7 separate regions of the Homo sapiens genome follow, and regions 1, 2, 3, 4, 5 and 7 are each linked to region 6. The links are contacts of gene promoters, found by promoter capture Hi-C in blood cells and fetal thymus (Javierre and others, 2016). All regions are on one chromosome and are shown on one strand. The core of a region is centred on a gene start or on the middle of the fragment in contact, and the rest is flanking DNA. Distances in the headings are between cores, read along the strand shown.

What was found. The method cuts DNA at HindIII sites, captures the fragments that hold promoters and counts their contacts. A CHiCAGO score of 5 or more calls a contact.
Region 1: a contact is called between a fragment that was not itself captured here and the fragment with the promoter of ATP2B1 in region 6, in 1 of 17 cell types (monocytes). The highest score is 6.0, in monocytes.
Region 2: a contact is called between a fragment that was not itself captured here and the fragment with the promoter of ATP2B1 in region 6, in 1 of 17 cell types (fetal thymus). The highest score is 7.3, in fetal thymus.
Region 3: a fragment that was not itself captured here is called in contact with the fragment with the promoter of ATP2B1 in region 6 in 3 of 17 cell types (total CD8 T cells, total CD4 T cells and total B cells); the score reaches 7.8 in total CD8 T cells.
Region 4: a contact is called between a fragment that was not itself captured here and the fragment with the promoter of ATP2B1 in region 6, in 11 of 17 cell types (total CD4 T cells, total B cells, non-activated CD4 T cells and 8 more). The highest score is 12.1, in total CD4 T cells.
Region 5: a fragment that was not itself captured here is called in contact with the fragment with the promoter of ATP2B1 in region 6 in 3 of 17 cell types (total B cells, non-activated CD4 T cells and naive B cells); the score reaches 6.5 in total B cells.
Region 7: a fragment that was not itself captured here is called in contact with the fragment with the promoter of ATP2B1 in region 6 in 1 of 17 cell types (M0 macrophages); the score reaches 5.9 in M0 macrophages.

The regions. Positions count from the first base shown.
Region 1 is chr12:90,119,394-90,122,093 of GRCh38, forward strand. No RefSeq gene overlaps it. Among named protein-coding and RNA genes, the nearest start is that of LINC02392, 170 kb to the right of the region's middle. The HindIII fragment of the contact is 8,320 bases long and covers 1-2,700 here.
Region 2 is chr12:90,151,722-90,154,544 of GRCh38, forward strand. No RefSeq gene overlaps it. Among named protein-coding and RNA genes, the nearest start is that of LINC02392, 140 kb to the right of the region's middle. The HindIII fragment of the contact is 582 bases long and covers 1,108-1,689 here.
Region 3 is chr12:90,057,795-90,060,494 of GRCh38, forward strand. All of the region lies in intron 8 of LOC105369890 (a long non-coding RNA gene), which reads left to right. Among named protein-coding and RNA genes, the nearest start is that of LINC02399, 110 kb to the left of the region's middle. The HindIII fragment of the contact is 316 bases long and covers 1,130-1,445 here.
Region 4 is chr12:90,098,385-90,101,084 of GRCh38, forward strand. It overlaps LOC105369890 (a long non-coding RNA gene), which reads left to right. Exons shown (of 13, transcript XR_001749246.2): 11 at 2,319-2,457. Among named protein-coding and RNA genes, the nearest start is that of LINC02399, 150 kb to the left of the region's middle. The HindIII fragment of the contact is 3,931 bases long and covers 1-2,700 here.
Region 5 is chr12:90,082,181-90,085,091 of GRCh38, forward strand. The region is part of intron 10 of LOC105369890 (a long non-coding RNA gene); the gene reads left to right. Among named protein-coding and RNA genes, the nearest start is that of LINC02399, 140 kb to the left of the region's middle. The HindIII fragment of the contact is 3,803 bases long and covers 1-2,911 here.
Region 6 is chr12:89,707,553-89,710,382 of GRCh38, forward strand. It overlaps ATP2B1 (ATPase plasma membrane Ca2+ transporting 1), which reads right to left and starts at 1,286. Exons shown (of 21, transcript NM_001366521.1): 1 at 1,044-1,286. It overlaps ATP2B1-AS1 (ATP2B1 antisense RNA 1), which reads left to right and starts at 1,403. Exons shown (of 1, transcript NR_028138.1): 1 at 1,403-2,830. RefSeq lists enhancers at 165-254, 265-364 and silencers at 555-784, 935-1,954, 1,975-2,524. The HindIII fragment of the contact is 7,681 bases long and covers 1-2,830 here.
Region 7 is chr12:90,215,225-90,217,924 of GRCh38, forward strand. No RefSeq gene overlaps it. Among named protein-coding and RNA genes, the nearest start is that of LINC02392, 77 kb to the right of the region's middle. The HindIII fragment of the contact is 1,282 bases long and covers 709-1,990 here.

The sequences.
Region 1 (2,700 bases), core at 168-2,667, 410 kb after region 6:
ATAAATCCTGGACAGTGTTCTATGTGCCGATAGGAGGAACACGTTTTTGTAGTTTTTGGATAAAATTTTCTGTAAATGTCTATTAGGTACATTTCATCTAAAGTCTAATTTAAGTCCAATGTTTCTTTGTTTATTTTCTGTTTAGATAATCTGTCTAATGCTGAGAATGTGGTGTGGAAGTCACTGACTGTTACTGTATTGAAATATATCTCTTTCTTTAGATCCAGTAATATTTGCTTTATGAATATGGGTGCTCCGTGTTGGGTGCATTATAAACTTAGAATAGTCACATCCTCTTAATGAATTGATTACTTTATCATTATTTAATGAGCTTTTGTCTTTTTTTTTTTACTGTTTTTGACTTAAAGTCTGTTTTATCTGATATAAGTATAGCTACTCCTGCTTGCTTTTAATTTCCATTTGTGTGGAGTATCTTTTTCCATCCTTTCACTTTGAGTCTTACGTGTCTTCACAGAGAAGTGAGTTTTTTATAGGCAGCATGTAGTTGGGTCATTAAAAAAAAAATCCATTTAGCCAGTCTGTATCTTTTAAGTGGAAAATTCATTTACATTCAAGGTTATTATTGGTAGATGAGTACTTATTCCCATTATTTTGTTGTTGGTTTTATGGTTGTTTTGTATATTCTTTGTTTCTTTATTTCTGTCTTATTTATCATTGTGGTTTGGTCATTTTCTGTGGTGGTAATATTTATGTCCTTTTCTTCTTTTGTATGTTTGCTTTGGCAGTACATTTTATGCTTTTGTGGATTTTCATGATAATTGATCTGTCATTTCACTTTCAGGTGTAGGACTCCCTGAAGCATATATTGTAGAGTTGGTCTAGGAGTAATGAATTACCTCAGTTTTTGCTTGTCTGAGAAAGACTTTATTTCTCCTTTATTTATGAACGATAAATGTTTCTGGGCATGGTATTCTTGGTTTGTAGGCCTTTTTTTCCAGCACTCCTGGCCTGTAAGGTTTCTGCTGAGATATCTGATGTTAGTCTGATGGGGTTTCCCTTATAAATGACTAGACACATTTCTGTTGCTATTTTCATAATTCTCTCTTTACCTGATTTTTGACAACTTGATTATAGTGTGTCTGGGAAAGGACAAAATGTAACTTTTTGGGTTGCATCTATTTGGAGATCTCTGAGCTTCCTGTATCTGAATGTTTAAATCTTTTGCTAGACTTGGGATGTTTTCAGTTATCATTTCATTAAATAGATTTTCCATGACTTTGGTCTCTTCACTTTCTGAAATATCCAAAATTTACATATTTAATTGCTTTATAGTGTCCCATATGTCACATAGGCTGTTTCATGCATTTTATTCTTTGTTTTTGTTTGTTTTGGGGTGTTTTTTGTTTGTTTGTTTTTAGTTTTACAGAGTTATTTCCAAAGACTGTCTTCAAGTTCTGAGATTCTTCTGCTTACTCTTGTCTATTGCTGAAACTCTCAAATGAATTTCTTGTTTCATTCACTGAATTCTTCAGCTCTAAGATATCTTATTTCTGGTTTCTTAAATGATATCTATCTCTCTGATAAATTTCTCACTCATGTCCTGAATTTTTAATCTGATTTCTTTGTATTGTTTATCTGTTTTGTTTTTCTGTATCTCACAGGGCTTTTTAAATATTATTATTTTGAATTCTTTTCCTGGGATTTCATAAAATTATTTTTTCTTTAGAATCTGTTGCTGAATAATTATTGTGTTCCTATGGAAGTGTAATTTTCTTTGTTTCTTTTTTGTGTTTCTTGAGTCCCTACATTGATATCTGGTGTCATAGTTGTTTCTACAAATTTTGAGGATTAGTTTTCATGGGAAATATTTTTCCTGGAGATGTATCTATGGTGTTGGTTGGGTAGGACATTTTATCTTTAATTCTGGATGCATGCAGTAGTGTAGTCTCTGTATGATTTCTTTGGCTGTAAACAATGTTAGTGGTGCTTGTGATTTTTTTTGTGGCTTATGCTGCAGTTGTTAGTGGAGGCTGTGTTGGGGTTTTGCTGAGGATGAAGATGCAAAGCGGGCTGGTCTTTGGGCCCCATTGGTGACAGTGGTGGGCTATGCAACCTTGGGCCCCTAGTCAGCATACAGAGTTTTAGTGGGTGCAAATGGGCGTACTCTTGGCCTTCTAGATTGCTGGGATGCTGGCAGTGGCAGTGGTGGGCTGGGCAGATGGTAGGTCTTTGTTCTCCTGCATAATGTGTATGGCATAAAGAGATGGAAGTAGTGGTGGTGAGTCAACCCTTGGGCTCTGAAGCAGCAGATGTTTGTGTTAGCAGCAGCTGCAGTTTGCTGAGTGTGCCAGTCTCTAGGTGGCACATATGGGTGACAGCATCTTGCTGTGACAGTAGTGGCAGGTTGGGTGAACACATTCTCAGGTCCCCAGGAGGAATGCACAGATGCTGGTGGTGGTGGACAGAGCAGTGCAATCCCTAAGCCTTTGTGCCATGTGCTTGGATACTGGATGGAGAGCAGTACCAGGCTGAGAAAGCCTGTCCTTAGGCCCACTGGTGGTGCATTTGGATGCTGGCTGTGGTGGGCTGATTGGGGTGATCTCAGGCTCCTCTGCAGAGTGCTTATGTGGCTGCAGCAGCATTGGTGGAATGTAGGGGGAGTCTGTTCTCAGATAGCATGCAAATTCCCTATAGTCCTGCTACTTGGGGAAGGGGAGCAGAGTTGCTAACCTTGACTGT
Region 2 (2,823 bases), core at 149-2,648, 440 kb after region 6:
ACCAAATGTTGGTGGAACATAACTATTAAGTATGTGCGTCCTGGAGCTTGACTTTTTGGCTTTATGCCCTGGCTCGGCCTCTTGTTACAGGCTGAAAGAATGAGGGTCCTGGAGCTTGACTTTTTGGCTTTATGCCCTGGCTCAAATAAAAGACTTCTGCCATGTGATGAACATAGGAGCTGGGGATTAAGGAAGAGAGAGGGAAGGACTAGGAAAGGGAAAGTACTGAATACTGAGTCAGAGTGGGGAAATGTGTCTTCAAGCCTCCCCAAATAAGCAGAGACACCTGGGAAAGGCCATGGCCTCTGAATGGAGGCTCCTTGTTAGCAATGTGATGTGCGTTAAGAGCATTGCCAGCTGGAGGAGCCTGAATCCCTGACTGCAACTCCTTCCAGAGACGGAAAGATGATGACTGTGCATGAAGTCTGGAGTTGGGAGGCAGCTCTCCCTCTCAAGGCCTGCCAGGTAAAGTCTTTGTAATTGCCTATGGTTGAGCCTCAAAGATCACACATAGGATTATGGCCTGGAGCTAGACTCCTCAATTATGTAGATATTAGCTCTAGTTTTTATAGTTTTAACTGTTTTCTAACTATCTCATGCCACCCTTTGGTATTAATTCCATGAAAGCTGTAACTATGTTGATTACATTCACGCTTTTATCTTTAGGGTCTGGTTTAATGTCTAAGGCTGGTTAAGACTACCAGAAATATACATTGAAAACATAGGTGTACTTATGTATATTTATATGAAATATTTCCTTTTAATGTAAAAAAAGAAAGTAAACTTTAAAAAACTGAGCGGCAAAGGCATATCTATTTCCAAAGTGCTAAAATACATTATAAAATATCTAGAGGGGCTGCTTGGGCTGGAGGCGGCTTGCGTCCTGATATCAAGCATCGTTCCCTCCTGGACCTCGAGTGCGGGGCTGCACACTGACTGACTGCCTTGGTTAGGCCCAACAAATCCCCAGTTCCCTGCAGTACCCCAGACTCCTGAGCCCCTGTTGTGGAGCCCTGTGAATTGCAGGCAACTGGGTAAATCTCAAGACAATCCTGATAGAAAACAGGGAATCAAGGCAGAGGTTGGCAAACAATGCAATGGAATTGAAGCTTGGCATCAAAGAAGGCTTAACAAGGAGACCTTTAATTGTAAATGTTTAGTGGGGGCAGGGCCAAGATGGCCAACTAGAAACAGCTGTGATCAGAGGCACCCATGGAAAAGAACTATAATAAGTGTATGACTGCTTCACCGGCAAGCAAGGTATCCAGGTTCTCTCATCAGAACTGATTAGGAGGCTGGCGTGATCCACAGAGAGGAAGGAAGAGCAGTGTGGTGAGGCAGCCCATCTGAGAACCACACGGGGCAGGGGGGCCCCCACCCCTAAACCAAGGGAGGCGGTGAGTGAGCAGGCTATCAAGTCGGGGAAACTGTGCTTTTTCCACATAACTGTGCAAACCACAGATCAGAAAATCCCATTTGTGAGCCCATGCCCCTGTGGCCTAGCTTCCCAACCCCAGAGCCATGCAGATTCTCAACAGTCTCTCAGCTGGAATCTGCTTAAGCCTACTGAGCTCACGTGGGGAGTGTCAACCAGCACCACAGCTGCAGCTGCGTGCTGTCTAGGCCCTTTGAACTCCTTGAGGGAAGGGCAGCAGCCAGCACTGGGACTCACAACTGCCTAATTTGCTAAGCTTCCTGGGTGGGGGAAGGGCAGCATTCATCTTTATAGCTCCAGGCCATGCTTTTCCCCTGCTGGAGCCAGGGAGGCTGTACGACTTGGTCTCCAGACGTGTCCCCCACAGCACAACACACCAGCAGTGGCAGACTGTGGCCAGAGTGTCTTCAGGCCTGACCCTGACTCATCCCTCCTCACTGGGTGTGGCGTCCCTGAAGGAACTTCAATAACTCCAGCCAGAGGCTCAGGGACAGAACCTGGATCTCCCTTGGCCTGAGCCCCTAGGGGAAGTGGTGGCTGCAGTCTATGCGGACCAGCAGACTTAGCCTTTCCTCCTGGTAGTTCTGAGGAATCTGGGCAGCCCAGAGAAGTGGGTTTCCCACCAGTGAAACACATCCCCTCCACCAAGGGGCAAAGTGCTGTTCCCTATGACGAATCCTGTTCCCTATGCCACCCAACTCGGTGAGACCCTCCAACAGGGGTTGTCAGGCACCCTATATAGGAGCGATCCTACTGGCATCAGGTTGGTGCACCTCAAGGTCAGTGATACCAGAATAAGGAGCAGGCACCCATCTTTGCTGTTCTCCAGCCTTCTTGAATGACATCTCCAGGTGTGGGAGTGAAGCAGATGAATAGGGCCTGAAGTGAATCCCCAGAAAACCACAGCAGCACTACGGCAGAGGGACCTGACCATTGAAAGAAAAACAAACAGAAAGCAACAACAATAGCATCATCAACAACAAAAAAAGCCCCTACAAAAATCCCATCCAAGGGTCAGCAGCCTCAAAGATGGAAACTAGACAAACTCACGAAGATGAGAAAGAATCAATGAAGAAACGCTGAAAACCCAAAAGGCCAGACTGCCTCTTCTCCTCCAAATTATCACAACATCTCTCCAGCAAGGGCACAGAACTTGATGGAGGATGAGATGGACGAATTGACAGAAGCAGGCTTCAGAAGATGGGTAATAAAAAACTATGTTGAGCTAAAAGAGCATGTTCTATCCAATGCAAAGAAGCTAAGAACCTTGATAAAACGTTAGAGGAGCTGCTAACTAGAATAACCAGTTTATAGAGGAAAATAAATGACATGATGGAGCTGAAAAACACAGCATGAGAACTTCATGAAGCATACACAAGTATCAATAG
Region 3 (2,700 bases), core at 38-2,537, 350 kb after region 6:
ATGCCTGGACCTTCATACCCCTGCCTCCATCAGTCACTGGATGAGTGCCACCTGGGAAGGATGTAGGGGGTCTGATCCTTGAAGGGGCTGTCAGTTGAAGGATGCTTCCTGATGGCTCTCTCAGTAGTAGGAACAAAAAGTCATTCCTTGACGGGATCTGGGTAACATTTTTTGTGTGTTTCTTACCTATTAAACCTGGTTTTGTGAGAGAAACTAACTGTAAAACTTACTATAAATGTTAATTTTATAATTCATATGATGATCAAACTTTTATTAAGGGTCTACTGTGTAATAGCTACTTGATATAAATAAAAACATTAAACCTGACATTTTTCTCTTTCCTTTTTTTTTGATACTGAGTCTTGCTCTGTCACCCAGGCTGGAGTGCAGTGGTGTGATCTTGGCTTACTGCAACCTCCACCTCCCAAGTTCAAGCGATTCTCATGCCTTAGTCTCCTGAATACCTGGGACTACAGGCAAGTGTCACCACACCCAGCTAGTTTTTGTGTTTTTAGTAGAGACAGGATTTCACCACGTTGGCCAGCTGGGCTTGAACTCCTGGCCTCGTGATCCACTTGCCTTGGCCTCCCGAAGAGCTGGGATTACAGGAGTGAGCCAGGGTACCCGGCCTGACTTTTTTTTTAATGTATGTTATTTCTTCTCTTAAAGTTGATAGTCTTTAGACCCATTGCAGTAATCCTCAAACAACCATTGAAGGATCAGGGTCGCACAAAAATACATATTGGTTACTAACTATGTTCAACACTTCAGAAATGTGAATCTTTTCTGCATAAAGTTCTTCCTTGGCATTTCAACACCATAAACAGTAGAATATTTTTGGCAATTGTTAAGCAGGGTAATTGCCAATACATAATTTTTGATCCACTATGACATAATTACAATAACAAAATTTACATATCTTAGTACTTCTTGAAGAACAAAATAAAAAATACTTTTAAGTTAAAACATTCTTGAAGAATACATAGTGGTATAAAAACTGAGCCTCAGGAAAAAAATAAAGGGAAATGCCATTTAATATGTTTTATTATCAACTGGGGAGCCAAAAATAAGTCATACGTAATGGAATTTCATTGTGTAGCAGTGGAATTTCCCCCAGAGTTTTATTAAAAGCTTTAACACAGTTTGAACTCCTCAGTGAAGTCAATGGCCTGGCCAAGGTCTGAGTCAGCATTTTAAGTAAATATGCTAATTTTTTAGCTCAACAAAGAAAATGTTACTTTTAGTGCATTTCCAATTTAAAACAATCTTTTTACTCTACTAGTTATAAACTATTCAGTGTAACCTAACTGAATGTTTTGATTGGTTATATTAAAATTTGCATTTCCTCAACAGTCTGAGAATGGTTTACTTGTTGACTGATCACAGTAAGAAGATTAAATTAGTAGTCCATGAATTAATAAGAAGTGCATTAGATGTTGATACAAAGCTTAATACAAATCATAATAGTGATCATTTTGCATTTGTATCATTTTACGCATTCAAAAGGATAAACCACATTCATTAGTTGATTTTAAAACATTAGATATGTCTATGTATGCAAATGAAAGTGGAGGATAAGAAAATAGATCTAAAAAATTAATTTTTCACTTGTCCTATCATTATCCGCTCTTTAGAAACCCTGCAGGTATAATAGAAAATTCTATAATCTTACTGTTCAGAGTGTGAACCTTGATTGAGAATAGGTGTCACTTGGTTGCCTGTTAGAAATGCTGGTTTTCAGGCCTTACGCCAAACCTGCTACACTGGAATCTGCATTTTACCAAGATACCCAGGTGATTTGTATTCACATTAAAGTTTGAGAAGAATTAAATCTGCAGTGCTTTTGTCTCTGACAAACTGAAGTTAAAATTCCAGTTTTTTTAACATTATCCAAATAATTGCTTCTTCCCTTTAGTTACACAAATAAATATAAGTATAACATATTCTGAGGCATAAAACTCCATACAGAAATGTGAGTCATTGAAGTTAATTTCTGTTTTAAATTCTGAGGAACTAAAGGTATAGGGTAGAATTAGGAAGCTTCTCTTTGAATAAAAATGTTCAAGTTATCCAATTACAAAATATGATTAATAGGCCTAATTTTATTTTTGTATATATTTGACCTTTTCCATCAGAATGATTTCCTAGAAATGTTAAATGGAGGGTTCAGGAAGCAAGCAAAGAAAACAATTTCCATCAAATAACATTATTTGACCACTGCTTACACAGAACAATCATCTTATGAACTATTTTCTCATTTCTTTGCATAAGTGAAATTTCAAAACAATGCTTTCCCCCACTCCCTTCATTTCTTGTGGGTAGCATAAGAGGATTTGCAACCCTGCTTGGTTTATGAGTCTCATATTACTGACTTTGCTCTGCAGATAGATGAAATAGGACCTCAAATGCAGTGGATGTTATGGTTAAAGCTGTTCTTATGTCATTTAGAGATTGTTTTTAGATTAAGGATCATTTGACCTTGAGTGACGGTGGTTGCTTAATTACCTATCATGGTGCCTCCAATAAGAGGTTGTCCAGTGCTGTCAGCCCATTACCTGCCTGTGCCATTCTAAAGCTTCTTGCTTCAGAAGATCTCTCAGCAGGGTTAGAACAAGGTAAAGAGCTTAAATAAGCAAGCTATATTTATCAGCAATAAACAGCAGTCCCTGCAAATGTCCTACCCAGTAAATTAATCTATAA
Region 4 (2,700 bases), core at 119-2,618, 390 kb after region 6:
AGTTTGTATAAATTGAGATTCGAGAGTTCATTTGGATAAAATAAGATGCTGGCTAAAGTTCAAAGCAAACATTTGCTGATGCTTAAAACCACCTTGAGACCAAAAAAGTTTACACTCCCTGGTTTCTCTAGGGAGTAGGGTTTGAGAAAACCACAGACAGTAGTTATTCTTGGAAATCCTGCTACCAGGCAAATGCCATAGGGCAAGGGCCCAGAGAAGCTGAGCTTCTCTCCCATGGCTAAAGGCAGAGCTTATCCTGACTGGAATTGCTTGGTCAGGGTTTAGAATCCTTCCTGCTGATGGAGAGAGAGGAGGAAGCTGAGCAAAAAGAAAGATGACTAGACTGGCTCTTGGAATTATATCCTAGAATAGCTGCCCAGTTTAGGTCTTCTCCTGATACTACTGACTTCCTGGAAGCCCTCTTTACACATAGTCTCTGGTTATTCCTTTTTTTTTTTTTGAGATGAAGTCTCACCCTCTCACCCAGGCTGGAGTGCAGTGACATGATCTCGGCTCACTGCAACCTCCAGAAAACTCCGTCTTCTGGGTTCAAGCAATTATCTTGCCTCAGCCTCCCATGTAACTGGGATTACAGATGTGCACTACTGTGCCCAGCTAATTTTTGTATTTTTAGGAGAGACAGGGTTTCATCATGTTGGCCAGGCTTGTCTTGAACTCCTGACCTCAAGTGATCCACCTGCCTCGGTCTCTCAGTGTTGGGATTACAGGCGTGAGCCACTACACCTGGCTGATCCATGGTTATTCTTCTTGTGTACCCCTTTCTACCAGGATATATAAAGACAGTTGAAGAATGTATCTGCCCCGAAGTTTCTACTTAAAATAGGCTTTGGTGGTTTGGGATTAAAGACAATTTGTATCTCAGTTCACTTAGGATCTGGGATAAAAATTGAAGTGTTATAACTACCTGATAATATTGAGAATATTAAAGAAGTATAGTGTGATTCTTAATAAGTACCTTGACACCTTTCCTTCAGAGCTCAGGGTGATTCAGTGGCCATTTTTCTTTGTGTTTTCTTTCCTGTCTCAGTCTGATATTACAGAGCAAGTTTATGTTCTGATTAGGAAAAACTGCAGTTCACTAAGATGCTATATTTGCTATTCAGTGAGTCATACTAAAAAGCCTCATGTTCTTAAATGACATAAGGAAATGGAATCAGGAGAAAAATCATGATCACAAAATGCACCATTCCAAAAATCTAGAGTGGGACAGAAAGATCAAGCATCTAAATGCAAACCTCCTTTGAACCGGAACTGCTATAACCAGGGCAGCAGATTGCTTGAGAATGGACATTGATTTTCCCAGGCAGAGGGTAAAGTTGTAAACAGTGGATTGTCTACTATTGAAAAACTCTTTCAACATGTTCGGTGCAGATCGGCTATCCTTTAATATTCAATGTACAGCACCATATCCACACACACTATAAATGTACATGAGCGTCAGTCATTTATCTCTGAATTTTCATGTTCCAACTCCAATACCTAATGTTTTAGAGATGCTTGGATGATTACATCATAAGGTCCTCACTCAATATATATTTTCACCTTTTTTTTCTTTTAATATACTTGATTTGTTTGGAATCTCCTTTCGGTTTTTTTTTTTTTTTCCAATGTGGGCAAGTTTTTCAATAGGCTTTGGAATGGGGCTGCAGTGAATGGGAAATGGTTAAACTGTGGTTACATGCTAAGTGACTGGCTTAGGGAATGAAAAAGAGAAAAGGGAGTCACCGATGGAGCCATCAGTCAGCCAACAAAGGTAGGAGCATAGCAGTGGGGAATAAAAACAGATCCAGAGAAACAGAAAAAATAATAAGTTAAAAGCCAATCTGAGTGGCACCTAATAAGAAAAGGAGGCTCATCTATGCATCTCAAGGCAACAATCCAAATAGGGAAGAGCCCAGAAATAGTTGATTGGATTTATTTTAAATAGTAAGGAAATAAGGAAATAGTAATAATAGAATAGGCAAATGTGGGCAAAATAATGAGATAATATACATATTGGTGTGCTGCTGGTGGATATTGTTGAATATTTAATACTATGTGAGCTTTTTGGGGCATGATAGTAAAGGCATGCGGTTATTGCAGCCAATTGGAAGCAAAAACTATCATAAGAGAGTAATGATTGTTGTTGATAGGTTTCTTTTTAAGTAGAGATACTATGATCAGGTTTATGAAGTGAGAGAAGACATCTGTGCTGACTGTACCAGAGTCTCATGACTTTGTATGGTTTGCTGGGGGAAATGGAAAACAACAGCAACAACAAAAACCTAACTTCACTAGCTCCTTGCTCTCTATTGCAGGAAATCCCTGAAAAACCAGATGGCAGAAGTTACTCAGAAGAAATGAAAGGATTTTCCATTATTCAAATAGGAGGTGGAAGAGGAAGTGTGGGAGTAATTACTGGATTAAGATCACTGAAAGACAAGATTGTCTTTAAGGGTGAGTCCTTTGGTTGGTAAACTTCATATAGGAAAAATTCTCAAGTGGTTGCCAAGAGCTAACCTTCAAGATGAAGTACACAAACCTGCTGACAGGCAAATATGACTCTCAGGTTCATTTCAAACTGCCCATACTTATTAAAGCTCTTCATTGCTCTAGGTCAGGGAAAAGTTACATAGGGTCCCTGAATATACTTCATATTTCATTTCTAAATCTGAGTTCTGATGGGGTATGTGTGTATAT
Region 5 (2,911 bases), core at 71-2,570, 370 kb after region 6:
TCAACTATCTGTTAAATGAAAACGTGTAAGTTTGAGAGCTACTTCTCTTGCACTCAATATTTTCTTTAAAATTTTTAAGAAGCAGGTGGGTTATCAGTGTTGAAAGCTAATGTGTGTGTGTGTGCGTGTGTGTAATTAGATTTCTCATCACCTACTTTTGTCCCAAGAGACACTTTCCCTTAATGCTATATCATCATACTATTTTCATAGGAGCAGAATATCATCTTTTTCTTTTTAACTCCCTGTCAAAACCTGATCATCTACTTGCCTGAGTTGAGTAGCCATTAATGTTAGATACTTTATTAGCTAGTTCTATGATTTGGGAATATCATTCAACTTCTTTTTCTCTCAGTTTGAAGGAGTTAGATTAGATAATATTTAAGCAGTTTCAACACTCTATCCCTCTACAAAATAGCAAAATTTGTATTCACTCACTTGAATGTACCATAAACAGTTGTGGGAGTGAATAGCTATGGAGTGCCCATTAAGTAATGTCCAGCATAATTATGTTTATTGGCTTGTCATCACTGTGGTTGATGGGCAGAGAGCAGGTATTCTATTTCCTTTACATGTACCCTAGGTCCTCAACCCTGGTTATCTAAAACTGTGATCTACATAGAGTGGTTGCTCAATTGTAGACTGTCTTATATTTGAAAAATATTACAGAGTCACCCTTGTGGGTAGAGGAGTAAAAAGGATTGCTTCTCCAATGGTTTTAATCTATGAATTTGGATGTGCATGCACTATTATTAGAATTCTCATAGGATTAACAAAATCTGCATCTTCTAACAATATTGCAGTGGGTGATGGTGATTTGAAACTTGTCCAAAGTCACACAGCTGGTAAGTGTGAGATGCAGTACTAGTAGCCAGGCCTCTGATGTTAACAGTTGCTGAAGCGTTCCATGATCCCATCATGGCAGCCATAACTCTCTTCTCTGTGCTGTCATGGTATTTTATTCTCACTGCTAGCATAGAACTTATGATGCTACATTGATTTTTGTTTGCTACGCCCCTAAGATGTGCGTGGTACATAGTAGTCACTAAAAAAATAGTTTGCCAATTGAATATTTGAATGCACATACAAGTGTCTGCTTGCACCAAACAGCTGTAAGTTCCTTAAATAATGGACCTGATCCTATACGTCGTTATATCCCTAGTTCTTCAGACAGTGACTGACACCTTGCTGGTACTTAAATATTTGTTTAATTGAACTAAATTCTTACCAAATGTAGTTCAGTGCTGCTTGTGTTTCACTAACATCACCTCCCATTTTTTTAAAAAACAAATCACATCCTTCCTTTTATTTCTATGTCCTTTTTACTTTTCCCTTTCATTCCTGTTCTTCTTTTCCTATCTTTCTTTATTACACTCTATTCTTTCACTTTAATGACTTAATTTATATAATTTATATCCCATGCCTCTTCTTTTTTTTTTTTTTTTTTTGATGGAGTCTTACTCCGTAGCCCAGGCTAGAGTGCAGTGGCGCGATCTCGGCTCACTCCAAGTTCCGCCTCCCGGGTTCACACCATTCTCCTGCCTCAGCCTCCCGAGTAGCTGGGACTATAGGCTCCTGCTACCACGCCAGGCTAATTTTTTGTATTTTTAGTAGAGACAGGGTTTCGCTGTGTTAGCCAGGATGGTCTTGATCTCCTGACCTTGTGATCCACCTGCCTCGGCCTCCCAAAGTGTTGGGATTACAGGCGTGAGCCATTGCGCCCGGCCATCCCATGCCTCTTCTATGCACTTGCTACCTTGAAGGCTTGGTGAAAATGTCAATAGACAGTTATCACTGTGTTGAGTCATGAAGTCGATCTGAAGTGGGATAAGCTAAGCTCTATGCCAGAATGCACCATTTTTGTATATGTATACTATTGTGTAGGAGGCAAGAGGAATATAAAAATCTACAAACTTGGTGAGGTATTGAGGAAAGTTGGCTGACTCCTTAATGCTTTTCAATGTCCAATTTATGGCTGAGAAAGCAACATTCATGGGAACCATTCAAAGCACCAGATTCTGTTTATTAGTGACTCAGCATTAATGCCCATGACTAAGGCACAAGTGTTCCAAATTCCAGTTTACCTTTTAACCCATTTTGTACGACTAGACCTCATGAACAGTTGTGGCTATTTTTTAACTGGCAAGATTGTATTTGATTATGCCTAAAGACCAATTGTTGTTTTATTAGGATTAAAGGAGCCTGCATTTCTTTATGAATATTTCTGCCGCTATTCTGATGCAATAGAATATGGCACCACAACACGACTTTCCAGCTTGCCATAAATATGAAAACTTAAAAATTGCATGAATTGCTGCATTCTTCTTAGTTTGTCCGGTCTCTTCTTCAGTTCTTAAAACAAGAAATGACTTTCTTTCAATTCTCTCTTCTTGGCTCACTCCGTTCCCCTGGTAACATTAATTTATTGATTTTCAAAATATAAATCCATGTGCATTTCTGACTCACTTAACATTAATTCTTCTGCTCTTCTTTTCCATTCAGTTCTTCTTTGGACCATTCCATTAAATCTGGAAAATGTTCTGTTGGTCTTAGCAGACACCTTCTTATTATGAGGTCCCAGCTTCTAGTTCTGTCTCCTCAAACATCCAACTCCATTTCGTAGCTGCATCAATTTAACGGCTTTCTGAAACTCTATGTTAAATAGCCCTTCTGGGAAGAAAAAGCATATAGGTTACGTTGTAATTCTAAAAATAACGAGCATTATAATTTTACGTAGTTTTTACTGCAATGCCTTATGTAGCATTTAAGATCACTAATTGGAACTAATTTTCATTTCTTCCCATCTTCTCTAATTCATCACAAAAGATAACACTGGAGTGATTACCTTACTCACTTACTGGATTCCAATAATGGACTTATTATGATGTTGGAAGGCATAGCTTTTGATGATTCA
Region 6 (2,830 bases), core at 36-2,535:
AAGCGAAAGGTGGCTGTCTGCAGCGCTCTAACCCAAAGAAAAGGTAAATATCAGCCTGTCGAGGAGGGTCGAGCCCTCCAAGTACCTGCAGACCCCTTTAACCCACCCGGACGCCCTGCCCTCCCCTCCGAGCCAAGCAGCGCACAGGGTGCGAGCACTCCCAGCGCTGCGAGTCCCGCAGAAAACTGGTGAATGAAATGCGCACAGAGACCAACCTGGCTGGTGACCGCGGCGCAGAACCAGGGGTCGCTAACCAGCTTAGCCACAGGATTCTCCCGCAGGATGGGATAAAGAGAGCACAGCCCCCACCCCACACCCCTGCCACTGGAACGCGGTCCTCCTACAGACTCCTTCCTCAAAAAGGGAGGTGGGGGCGCAGGCTTTTTTCTCTTAAACTAAGTGAATAAACACGAATCGGAAACAACTGTGAACATCCTGGGGGGCCAGACGGAAGGCGTGAGGAGAAAGACCAGGCGGCTCTCCAACTCCCGAGGAATCACCGTCCTGACACGCCAACAATCAACCACCAGGGCCAGGGGCCGACCAGGGGCCCCCGCTCCCCTCCCGCAGTGCGTCTGGGGGGCCGAGGCCAAGGATTAGAGGGGTGACCCTCCCGGGGCGCGGGGAGAGGGAGTGCCGGGCACGGTGCCCTCAAGGTCACCACGCGCCGTGGCGGGGGCGACCGGTGGCGGGATGGGCTGTGGCGCGGCCGAGGCGGCTTCGTGAAGCCGAAGACCTGCGGGTGTAGACCAGAAGCCCCAACAAGCCCCATCCCTCGGGCCCGGAGCAGCGACTCCCAGACTGACCCGGCGCTGAGGTGCACGGCGAGAAGCCCGCTCACCTTCACAATCTCCCGGCAAGAGGCAACCTGCGAGGGGCCCCGACCGCCCCCGTCAGCTTCTCCCGAATCCGGCGCAACCCGCTGCGCACCCAGCTATCAGGATCCCCGCCGCGACGCCCGACCTCCGTGCTCCGCCTGGCCTCCCCCGCAGGTGACCTGCCCCGCCGCCCCCGGCCGCGGGCGGGCGGCGGCCGCCACTCACCTCGCCCGGCAGTGGGAACCATTTTCCGAGGGGGAAGGAAAGGCAGGCTGCGGGAGGGTCGCGGGGCGTTAAGGGGCAGCGGGAAACGCAGAGGATGGGGGCTCCGTCCTCAGCGCGTCCGCAGCCGGCTCGCAGGGCTCGGGGCGCCACGCGGAGGTGCAGCTGCACCTCGGGGATGGGGCGGCCAAGGAGCCGAGAGGCTCGGCGTCCACCAGCCGGGGCTCCCTACTCACGCTGCACTGCGAGGAGGCGGCGGCGGCAGCGAAGGAGGAGGAGGCGGCGCCCGGCCGTCCCCGCCCAGAGCCCGGCAGCCACCGAGTGGCCGCCCGCGTCCCCGCAGGACCCGCCTCCTCGGCTCCGCAGAGCGGCACACAGGGCGCGCCGCGCTCGCTCGGCACGGGCAGCTCAGCCGGCCTCACGCCGCCGTCCGCAACAGCAGCCGCGGGCGGGGTGCAGCCACCTCCGTGAGCGCCGCAGCCCGCCCCACTCGGGGCGGGGCCCGCGGGCACCGGAGAGCGGACGGCCGAGCACGAGGGGGCTGCGCGCAGCTCCGGGCAGGGACCCCGTCTGCACCGGGTGGCCTGCAAGATTGCCGGGGTAGGCAGGGGGAGGAGAACGCTCACCCGTTCCGGTCTGGCGCTCCCTTTTCTCCACACCCACACGCCTCCCGCTCCACGCTGGCGGCGCAGCTGCTCCCGCTGCCACAGCCGCCACCGCCGCCGAAGCTCGCGCCGCCGCCGCTGCCGCCTTGGCTGAGCGCGGTCACGTGACGCGATCCGCGGGGAGCCTGGGGGCGGGCGAGTGCGCGCGCGCGCGCGCGGAGGAACCGCGGCTCGGACCGGGACTGGGAGCTGAGCGGCACTGGGAGGGCGTTTAAGGGGAGGACCCGGCGAGCGCGCCCTCGGCTGGCGAGCGCGCGCCTGGCGATTAGAACTTGCCGCGCGGTCGGGAAAGGGTGGCCGGAGTGAGGGGCGGAGGTGGGGACTTGCGCCTCCGCACGCCCCTCCCTTTCTTCCTTCCCCTGAGCGCCTTGGCTTGCCGCTGCCCCCGCCCCCTCCAGCGCGCCCCTTCCCTCCTGCCGCAGCCTGCGATTGGCTGAGAGGCTCTGACGTCCGTGTTTCCATGACGTGTTGGTGCAGGAGGGAGCGGCGGGGGAGGAGGGGGTGGCCAGGCGCGCGGGGAGGTGACTCCGTCAGTCACAGCTGCTGTTTCGGCGCGGGGCCGGGCCGCTGCCGCGACGTGTGGAGGCAGGAGAGCGATGATTGCCGCAGGAGAAGTGCGGGCGCCCTTCACCTGGGGCCCCTCCCGAACCGCCCCCGGGCCCATGCCCCTCCAGGGCCCAGGAGCGAGCCAGCGGGAGGGCGAGGGCGAGCGCTCCTGGCGAGGACAGATTAAGGCGAACCCCCAGTCAGCGGACATTTGAGCGGCTCCTCGCCGCGTCTCTGCCCCCACTCCAAACCGGACTCGACGCCTGTCCCGGGCCGTGACGCACGCACCGGAGGAAAAAGTGCTTCTCGGCTCGCTCCCTCTTTGGGGAAGAGAGCTCACTCCCCATGCGGGCGCGGGACACTCCATCTCTGTTCCTGCCGGTCGGGTCCGCAAACACCGGGGATCCCAGCTGCGGCGCCCAAAGGGTTAACGCAGGCGTTCGGCCAGTGCAAACCGGCCTCGCAGGATCCGCGCTTAAAATCCGGGTGTTTTCATTTTGGGTTTGTTTCTTCTACTATGCCAAGCTGGTGGCTCTCTTTTAATTCTCTTGTAACATCTCAACCCTGCACCCATCTTTC
Region 7 (2,700 bases), core at 100-2,599, 510 kb after region 6:
ATTACCAGGAACATAGAAAAGCTTTACTTATACATGAGATCATTATATTCCGCACCTTCTCTGGGGACACCTCTTCTGTGCATGGATAAGCCATAAAAAGGCTTATTGATTTGAGTCACATTTGGAATGAGTATACTTTCTGAAGCTGGGTTAGAATCCAGGCTGCTTTGTTTGGGAGAAGGTACCTCTTACATTAAAATTTTTCTTCTTGACTTTTTGTTTTCAGCCTTCTTTGTTCTCCGTACCCTACCCTGCTCTCTCATGGGAACTTCTCAGTAAAGTGAAACCTGCCAACAGCCTTCATAAAACCCCTATGACTATGTGCTCCACCATTACAGTGCTGCCACTGTCTGCTTCCTTTCTTTTCGGCATGACTTTTCCAAGGATCATTTAAAAGTTCAATGGCTTCTTTGAGAAAACTTATTCCTCTAAGACCTTTCTTTTCTTTCTCCAGTCTCTCAACTCCCTAGAGTCATTGGTACTTTAGGGCACTGGGGTCTTTCAAGAGACCCCAGAAGAAAAGATCTGGTGCTAAAGAGGATAAATAAAATAGACTGGATATTATCCACTCAGATGGACTTTGGAGGCATGCAGGTGACCGCTTACTGCATCCTTAGCCCCTTCACCTTAAATTTATTAAGTTGTTCACAGTCTCCATAATATTACATATGAAAATTTAAAAATCTCCTTTACAAATATTCATAAAAAAGCTTTAGCCCTTATATTGAGCAAGTAACAACTTGTTCCATTTGTCAGAAATGTAATTTGGATAAAAATACACAGTGAAGCAAAGACGAAAACCAACCCAAATACATACTAGTGAGTTTTATATTAGTATACTTACGCTTGATGCATAGCTAAGTTTTTGGAATGAAAGCCATAAAGATCTCTACTTGCAACTGTCTCTCTGTCTGTACGTATGTTAAGTGTATGTGTACTTTCCAACCTCTGAGTGTCATGACCAAATTAGTAAAAGAGCTCTATTCTGATTGGCTTGGAGAAAAATAAGTGCTTTAATAAATCGACTATTCCTAAAATTGTCAGAAATGTTGGAACATTATAGTTGACACATAAAATCAACTATAATAAGTCCACCCCTTGTCAACTTGGCATCCATCTACATTTCCTTAAAGCATACTTATTTTCCAAATAAAGAAAATAACAAAGTCATAATTTTACCTAACATGATACAGCTGTCCTGCTTACAACCAAAAATGCACTAATTCCTTTCCAAGAAGAGGAGATAAAATTCTTGAGTGTGTTTACTCTTCTACTTGCTATCCAACAACTTAAAAACTACAATACATAATTAATAATACTTAAACATGATGATGTAAAGTTACATCTTTTGTTACATGGTAAGAAAATACAAGAGAGAAGAAAATGAAACCACCTTTGCAAAATTATAACAGTAAGATAAATCTGGCTTGCTTCTAACCCCCAAGCTCCAAGCTCCTCTAAGTCTACCTTGCTTTTAACCTACAAGCTGTCCTTACTCAATCCTGGGCATGGGCCAAGCTAACTTTTGGAGGAATTTAGTTTATAGTTTAACTTTAAAGCAAGAATGATAATAGCCCTTCCAAAAACTAAACCACCTTTGAAAAATGAATGAGAGACCACGAGGTTAGATTATAAGAGAGGACTGTATTCTGTTAAGACATAGGCATAATTTCTGTAATGTTTTACTGCTCAGGTCTCATGTGGCCAGAGATGACAGAATTTGTGACTTCCTCAATTTCTCCTATAAATAACATCACTATTGTGGAACCTCAATGGTCTTTTGAGAATCTTTTCAAACTTCCTGGCAAGTGACTGACCCTGCCAAGACCTGTGACTCATGACTCAACTGGTCCTGTGGCCCCCACTCAGAGGAGAACTCAGCACACAAGAATTGTTTTCCACACTCCTATGATTTCATCTTCAACCAATCAGCAGCACTCATTTCCTAGCCACCTGCCCACAAAATGCTTCATAAAAACCTTAACTTTCAAGCTTTCAGGAAGACCAATTTGAGTGATAACTCTAGTTCTCCCATGTGGCTGGCCTCTAATCAATTAAACTGTTTCTCTACTGCAATGCTGCAGTCTCAGTGAATTGATTTTTTTTTGTGCAGTGGGCAAGAAAAGCCCATTGGGCAATTAAAAAAATACTTAAAATATATACTATATATAATTACATATATCTGACATATGTGAATATATATAATATATATTTCTATTTTATTTATATATTTATATTTGTGTATATATAACATTTATGATATAAATGATGATTCATGAGGCCATTCTTTAAAATAATAATAATAACATTTATAATATGATGTTATAAATATGTAACAATTATATATTATACTTATATTTATAATATATATTTTATTATATATATATATTCTTTTTTGAGACGGAGTCTTGCTCTGTCGTCCAGGCTGGAGTGCAGTGGCACGATCTTGGCTCACTGCAAGCTCCATCTCCTGGGTTCACGCCATTCTCCTGCCTCAGCCTCCTGAGTAGCTGGGACTACAGGTGCCCGCCACCACGCCCAGTTAATTTTTTGTATTTTTAGTAGAGACGGGGTTTCACCGTGTTAGCCAGGATGATCTTGATCTCCTGACCTCGTGATCCGCCCGCCTCAGCCTCCCAAAGTGCTGGGATTACAGACGTGAGCCACTGCGCCCAGCCTATTATATATTAAATAATAATT